Linked DNA regions of Homo sapiens: region 1 is linked to region 2. The links are contacts of gene promoters, found by promoter capture Hi-C in human tissues and cell types (Jung and others, 2019). All regions are on one chromosome and are shown on one strand. The core of a region is centred on a gene start or on the middle of the fragment in contact, and the rest is flanking DNA. Distances in the headings are between cores, read along the strand shown. Region 1 has its middle 1.9 kb from the start of LINC01718. Region 2 holds the start of CDH4 (cadherin 4).

Evidence for each region. The method cuts DNA at HindIII sites, captures the fragments that hold promoters and counts their contacts. A contact is called where the count stands out against the background at its distance.
Region 1: a contact is called between a fragment that was not itself captured here and the fragment with the promoter of CDH4 in region 2, in 2 of the 25 tissues and cell types used here (H1 embryonic stem cells and liver).

The regions. Positions count from the first base shown.
Region 1 is chr20:61,075,373-61,078,895 of GRCh38, forward strand. No RefSeq gene overlaps it. Among named protein-coding and RNA genes, the nearest start is that of LINC01718, 1.9 kb to the right of the region's middle. The HindIII fragment of the contact is 4,888 bases long and covers 1-3,523 here.
Region 2 is chr20:61,250,459-61,254,162 of GRCh38, forward strand. It overlaps CDH4 (cadherin 4), which reads left to right and starts at 1,803. Exons shown (of 16, transcript NM_001794.5): 1 at 1,803-2,112. The coding sequence starts at 2,056. The HindIII fragment of the contact is 10,940 bases long and covers 1-3,704 here.

The sequences.
Region 1 (3,523 bases), core at 440-2,939, 180 kb before region 2:
GAAAATGGACTGATACAAAGGCCATCTCACCACCCCTTGCTTGCATGGGCCATTGATTTTGACTTACCATCAGGGCCCAGCGACCCTGGCCAGGCATCCTTTGGACCACTCCTCACACTGCCCAGACTGGACAGGACACAACCCTGGAAAGGCCTGGCTCCCTCTCCACACAGCTGCTAGGCTTATGAGCTCTGAAAGGTACAGGCCTCCAAGAGCCTCCATTCGGCCTTCAATAATGAGAGGGGGAGAAGAGCCATCTCTCAGCCACAGCTGGAAGGAAGTGGGCTTCATATTCATTTGCACAGCTCCTCTCAACCTGGCCCCTTCTTTTTTCAAGTAGCAAGAAAAAAAGCTGAGAGAGCCAGGAGATGGAGGCTCTTAGTAGATCTTTAAAAGGGGCAATTTTGTTTCATTTATCTGAAAAGTCACACCGCACATGGTGAAGGGGGAAGAAGGAGAAGGGGAGGAGAAGGAGAACTCGTGGAGGATGGCTGGCACCCGGGAAAGCAGACCCCCTCATCCTCTGGCTCCGTGAGTGGGTTCCAGGACATCGTGCAGGAGGTGACTCTCCCTGACTCAAGCTGAGCCTGCTCATCACAGTGTCTGGTGTGCATGATGTTTCTCTTATTTGCTAGGTTCAAAGCTTTGTGCCCACAGCTTCTTTGCTGGTTCTTTCACACGTCTGCCCAGGGCCCAGCACCTGCCATATCTGGAGTGCTTTCTGACCCCGACATTCCTGTCACCTCATTCAGTTCTCTGCTCACTCATCACCTCCCCATTGAGCCCTTTCCCCAGCCCCCCTGCCTAGCCCCATCCAGCCTTCCTCACCCATAGCGAGCTCTGCCTGCTCTGGCTCCTTGTATAGACTGGCTGCTCTCCTGGGTGGCCGGAGCAGTCTGGTTCAAGGTATAAGACCCTCCTCTACTCTGTAACTGCTGTGATTGAGGGGCCTAACTCGAACCCCAGGTACAAACTGGAGTCACAACCAGGACATTCAGCCACACACATGAGGCTATGCCCTGCACAGCAACCCGTGTGTAGAAGTCTCATGGAGCTTCCGTAACAAATGACCACAATGGGGAGGTATATTCCCTCCGCATTCTGGAGGCTAGAAGTCTGAAATCAAGGTATCAGCAGGGCCATCCTCCCCACAGAGGCTCTGCAGGAGGACCCTTCCTGGCCTCTTCTACCACCGATGGCTCTTGGTGTTCCTTGGCTTGGACACATCACTCCAATCTCTGCCTCCACTTCACATGGTTTTTTCCTCTTCTTTCCCTGTCTCTGCTCTGTGTGTCTACTTTTATTTTTTTATTTTTTTGAGACACAGTTCTGCTCTGTCACCCAGGCTGGAGTGCAGTCCAGCTCATTGCAGCCTCAAACTCCCAGATGCAGTCATGGCTTACTGCAGCCTCAAACTCCCAGGCTCAGGTGATCCTCCTACCTCAGCCTCCCAAGCAGCTGGGACTACAGACGCATGCCACCATGCCCAGCTAATTTTTTTTCTTTTAAAGATGGGGTCTCGCTATATTGCCCCAGCTAACCTCAAGCTCTGGGGCTTAAGAAATCTTCCTGCCTTAGCCTTCCAACATGCTGGGATTAAAGGTGTGAGCCACCGTGCCCTGTCTATTTAAGGATACTTGTCATTGGATTTAGGGTCCACCTGGAGGATACAGGATGATCTCATATCAAGATCCTTAACTTAATCACCTCTGCAAAACCTCTTTTTCCAAATAAGGTCACATTTACAAGTTCTTGGTATTAGCACACATATCTTTCTGGGGATCACCATATACTTATAAATAATAAAATTGTGGACATTGTATAAACACTGATGGCATGCCAGTCAAGGTGTTACATACTTCACTTTTGTTTGCTTATTTGATCTGATAGTCCCTATGCCATATCTCCCCCCGCTCCCAACAGGGAGTTGCACTGGACTTCCAACAAGGAAGAGAGGTGGCCTTATCCCCATTTCACGATAAGGAAACTGAACATCGAGGAATGTACAACCAGCAGGTGGCAAATACCAGAACTCAGATGCGTGTCTTCCAGGCTTCCAAGGCTGTGCTCCCACATACCCCACAGCAACTGCCTTGCAGATGAAGGTGCTGGGGCTCAGAGGCTTGCCCAATGTCCCGTGGCTGAGAAGTGATGAACAGAGTTGAAATTCCACTGCTTCCCATTCCAGGCTCTTGCTGCTGTAAGATGCCTCCTCCTCAGGGTCCAAAGTGGATGGAGCAGCCTCTGGTCAGATGGCACCATGTGCTGGGTTACAATACAGAAAATCTTCCCTCCCTTCTTCCCCGGGCCACTTCCCTCATCCCACTGAAGTCTTGCCTCATCTCACTGAAGTAGGGCTTGGATAAGTAGCTTGTTCAGGCCAATGGAACATAAGCATAGACAACATGCCAATCCTGAGCCAAGCCTAGGTGGCATCTGGTGCTTCCTCATGGCCTGTTGTGTTCCTACTGTTACCACAAAAAACCATGCCCTGGGTAGCCACTAATTCAAGGATGATGGGAGGCTCAAGGAGCAGAACTCAACCCAATTCACAACCTGGAGCCTGGAACCTAGAGCCAGGAGCTGGGAGTCCAGAGCCCAACCTAGCCCAGCCGTGGTGCCATGCAACTCTCTTACTGGCTCATAAGTGAGAAATGTCTGTTGTTTTCAGCCTCTGGGTTATGGAAAGATTTGTTACTCAGCATTATTACAGCACTGCTAACTGATACAGATGGGTCTAAACTTGGATGGTTAACAAATATGGAATATATCTTTAGAATAACAGATTATTCTCTGATTCAGAAAGAATGTACAACATAAAATCCAAAATAGATGGCCCCATGCTAACTGAAACCAGTATTCAAGCTAGCTCTTTACAATTTAAAAGGAAATTGGAATTTGAGATGGGACAGGCGTTTTTCATTGGAGATGTTTTGAATGGAAGCATCAAGATCTCCAAAAACGTACTTCTCACTTTTTAAAGGCTTTTGTTTATACCTAACACTAAACTGATGCTAGATTGAAACATCAATTGACAACCTGGTCTGTCAATGAAGAATGTTCAACTTACATGTAAATACATGTACAAACATGGGCCTTCTATTCAGTCAGTCTCAATTGAAAACTTTCTTCTCAAAATTCACTCTAATATGGGGATTGTGTTTATTTATGGGTGACAGCTAATTTGCTTTCTTCCTGTAATAAAATAATTAAAATACTTTGCTCTACGAGTTGTATTTTTTCAGGGTGATCCTTTCATTAAAAGTCATTTAATATCCTTCTGTTCTGTTATCTGCTACATTTCAACTTTTGTGTTTTCTCTGCTCTCCTTGTCTTCTGTCATATTTCTCATTAAATTTCCCCTTTTTGTCCTTTTGTTATGATGGCTTATTTTCTGCCCTAAAACAAGCTTTGAACTTAAAAACCTGAAAAGCATTTTATTTGGAATAAAAGAATCCACAGTGTCACACATTTGTCAGCTAATGTGTTCCTGCCTATGCTTTGTTTTAATTTTTCAGAGTGA
Region 2 (3,704 bases), core at 553-3,052:
GTAGAGGGAGATGTGCTTAACACAGTGTTTGGAGTTCAGGACCCACCTGCTCCTGGACCCCAGTCTCCCTGCCACACACTCATACCTTTTCTTTTTCAAATTGGCGCGCTCCTCAGCGCTTCAACAGTTTCGCAGAGCACGTTGGAGCAAATGCGGGGGTCTGTGATGCCTCTCCAAAGAAATAACTCGCATAATGCTCAGGCCTCCTGCAGACAAAGGTGTATCCCCAGCGACAGATATTTTAAGAAAATAGACCAGGGACACAAGACAAGAGAGCTGTCTTGGTGTCTAAAGCAGTCTTGGACAGCTTCTGATGTCGCTCGAGCAGTGGTGAAGCACCTTGAATAAGGAGGAAAGCAGAGGGGGCGTCTTCCCAAAGGACGGGCACATGGCCGAGGAATGGAATTCTCTGTCCATGAGGATTTTGGATGGATCTGTTCATGAAACCTCACTGGCTACGCAGGACCTTCGAGTGAGTCTAAACCTCCAGCCATGTCAACTGGTAACCTCTCCTTCTTCGGCTAGGTGGGGAGTGGGACAAGGCCATAACTGATAGGAGTCCAGGCTGGGGCAGATTTTGTGTCTCCTGACTAGTTCCATAGTTAAGTTGCAAAACCGAATCTCGCCTTGTGCTCTCGGATGTAGTGCTTACTCTGGTCCTCTGGGGTTATCTAAAATCTGGTTTCCTTAAGCGTAAGGCAGAGCTCTAACCGGGAGACCACCCTGCCCCCAAGGGTGGGGGTTCTGGGAGGGAGAGAGGGAAGCGGCTGCTCTGTAGCTTTCTCTACTGGCTTGCCCAAGTGGACTCTGATCTTGGAGCTCAACAGTGTCACTCAATCTTCCACCCTCTCCTTTGCAACCTATTTCTTAAACCAGAACTAATGTATTCTGGACACAGAGTCCCTGAAACCCCAGACAAAGAAAATTCGATGTATCTGAACAAACAAAACCGCGTTTCTTTAAATCTCCAAGCCAAAAGGAAAAGTGCAGAAACATTTACTCACTGTCCGACCTGTACATATATTTTACCTGATAACCCTTAAAGAAGTGCCCCCCAGTTCAGCCATCACCCATGCAGGGCAAAGGGAGCTGGAGCTGGCCCAGCCTGTCGGCGCAGACACTCCTGACAGCTCCTGTCTGGGCACTTCTTTCTTTCTTGGAGCTTCTAATTTCTTTCTTGGCTTCTGAGGCCTAACAGGGTGTTTTGATGCACACACAGGAATTACTACCGTCCCCAATCCTAGGGTACATCCCTAGCCCAGGCCAGGGCTTTGAGTTTTCCTAGGAGCGGGAGGGTCTGCAAAGCCCCACAGGCTGAAATCTCAGCGTGGCCCTCTGCTCATCTGCTCCAGGTGGAAACTCTCACCCCTGAGCTGCCCGACCTGGGTTCAAGCCCGGGTCAGGGGAGTTAGCAAGGAGACACCTGAAAAATAAAAGGACAGAATGGAAGTGCACACTCCCACCGCGGGCCCGGGCGGGAAGTCGGACTAAGACCGCGGCGGGACCGCCCCATCCAGAAAGGGTGCCCCGGGTGTGGGGGCGGAAACCCCAGCGCTGTCTTCAGTCTCCACACCCGCGCCTTTTTCCCCTGGAAAACGAGCGTCCTTGGCCTCTTCGGCCGCAACCGGGCGGCTCCAGACGTCCAGGAGGGCAGAGGCTGGGCTGGTGCGGCGCGGGGGGCGCGGGCGCGGGCTCTGCGCCTTTAAGGCCCGCGTCGGCAGAGCGAGCGCAGGGGCCGGGCGGCGGGGCGGGGCCTCGGCGGGGCGGCCGCGGCTTCACCTGCAGCTCCGAGCGCGCGGAACAGAGGCGCGGGCGGCTGCGAGGCCGGCGGACGCACCGGCCCGAGGGAACGCGCCGCCGGCCGGACTTGGCCTGGCTCCCGGAGCCGGGGCGGCGAGCGCGGCGGGCGCAGCGGGGCTGGAGGCTCCGGGCAGGCGCGGGGGAGCGGCGGCGGCGGCGGCGATCGGAGCGGCGGCGGTGGTCTCGGCGGCGGCGGCGGCGGCGGCGGCAGGGAGCGGGCTCCCGGTGCCGGGCACCGGGCGGGCGGCGGGGAAGATGACCGCGGGCGCCGGCGTGCTCCTTCTGCTGCTCTCGCTCTCCGGCGCGCTCCGGGTAAGTTGCCGCCTCCCGCCCCCGCCGTTCGGAAGCCCCGGGCAGCGGGAGGTCGTCCCCGGATCCCGCGGGGCGCTCACACACCCGGCGGGGCTCTCCCGGGCTCCCCCGCCGCGCTCCCCGCTGCATCCAGCCCGGCGCCCGCGCTCGGCGAAGCTGCCTGCGGTCGGCAGGAGCGGGAAGCCGCCTGGGCAGCGGGGAGCGGCGGAGCAGGGTGGGAGTGGGGCTCGGTGGAGGACCCGGGGAGCTCCGCCTGCACCGGACCCGCCGAGCCTCCCTCGAACGCCCAAAGCCCGTAGCCGCTACCCGGAGCTCGGCTTGCCTGCATGGGGCAGGCTTCCACTGGCGGAGCCGGCGCGCCCTCCATCGCCCGGGAGCCGCGCGCCGCGGGAGTTGCCGAGCCCAGCCCCGGCCGTGGCTGAAGGCGTGGGGCGCCCGGCGGCTGCGGGCCAGGGATCCGCGAGTGCGGGGCGCCTGCCCGACCTCTCCTGCCCAAGGCCTGGGGGTCCGTCTAGCGGCGCCGCTCAGTTCTGTGGGTGCCGGCAGGACCCGCGCTGCGGGTGGGCGGCGGGGTAGGACTGCGGGGCACTCTCACCCCCGAGCCCTCGGCGGGGCTGGAGCCTGCGTGTCCGGCGGGGCCCCGGGGGCTGGGAGCTGGGCCGGGCTTGGGCCGGGAAGCCGGACGCCGGGCGGGCGCGGCGCGGGAGGGCGCCCCGGGAGGGCGAGCGGGTCTCCCGCTGCCTCTGCAGAGCCCCGCGGGCCGGATTGCCAGCTTTGCTCTGCGCCTGGCGAGGTGCGCGGCCCGCGGGGGCAGAGAGCGCGGCGGCTCCGGGGGCGCCCCTGGGCGGAGGCGGAGGGGCGGCGGGAGTTGCAGGAACCCCCTCTCGTGGCCGATCGGCCTCGCTGCCTTCTCCCGGGCAGCGCTGTTGTAACCTCGGAAATAAACAAGTGCCAGCGGCGGGAGGCCCGCTCCGAGGCCGCGGGGCGCTGGGGGACGCGCTGGGCACACGCTTCGGGCGGGCGGAAACTTTCCTGGGCGAGTTGAGCCTCCCACCGGGCTGCGGGTGCGATTTGGAGCTTCGTGGCCGATGAAGAAAGCCGCGGTTTAGAGCTTTTCGTAAGGAATGACCCTGCGTCCCGCTCTCCTCCCTCGGTGCTGGGGGTAGAGGGGCGCCCTCCGCGGTGCCGGCGTCGGGAAGCCTGGAGCTCCGGGCTGGGGGCGGCCTCCGGAGTCGAAGCATGGGCGGGCGACGGCAGCGCGCGGAGCTGGAGGAGGCGGCGGGCGGGAGGCGCCACTGCCCGGTGCGGGCTGCACCCGAGGCTTCCTGCGCTCGCCGGGGAGCCAAGCACCGCTGTGCTCCTGCTCCTTCAGCGGGGCTGGCTTCCCGCTTGCACACACTGCCTCTCCCTCCACCACCTCCTCCTGCCTGTCACGCCCCCTCCCAGAAGCTTGGTCGGAGGGCCCTGTCGTCCACCCCATCCTTCCCTGGCCCTGTGCCATGGGCTCTAGACTTCCCCACTGAGCAGGAAAGGCGAGCGAGCTCCGGAGGACAGGAGGAGACCCCCTTTCCGGTCAGTTAGGGGAGCCGTCT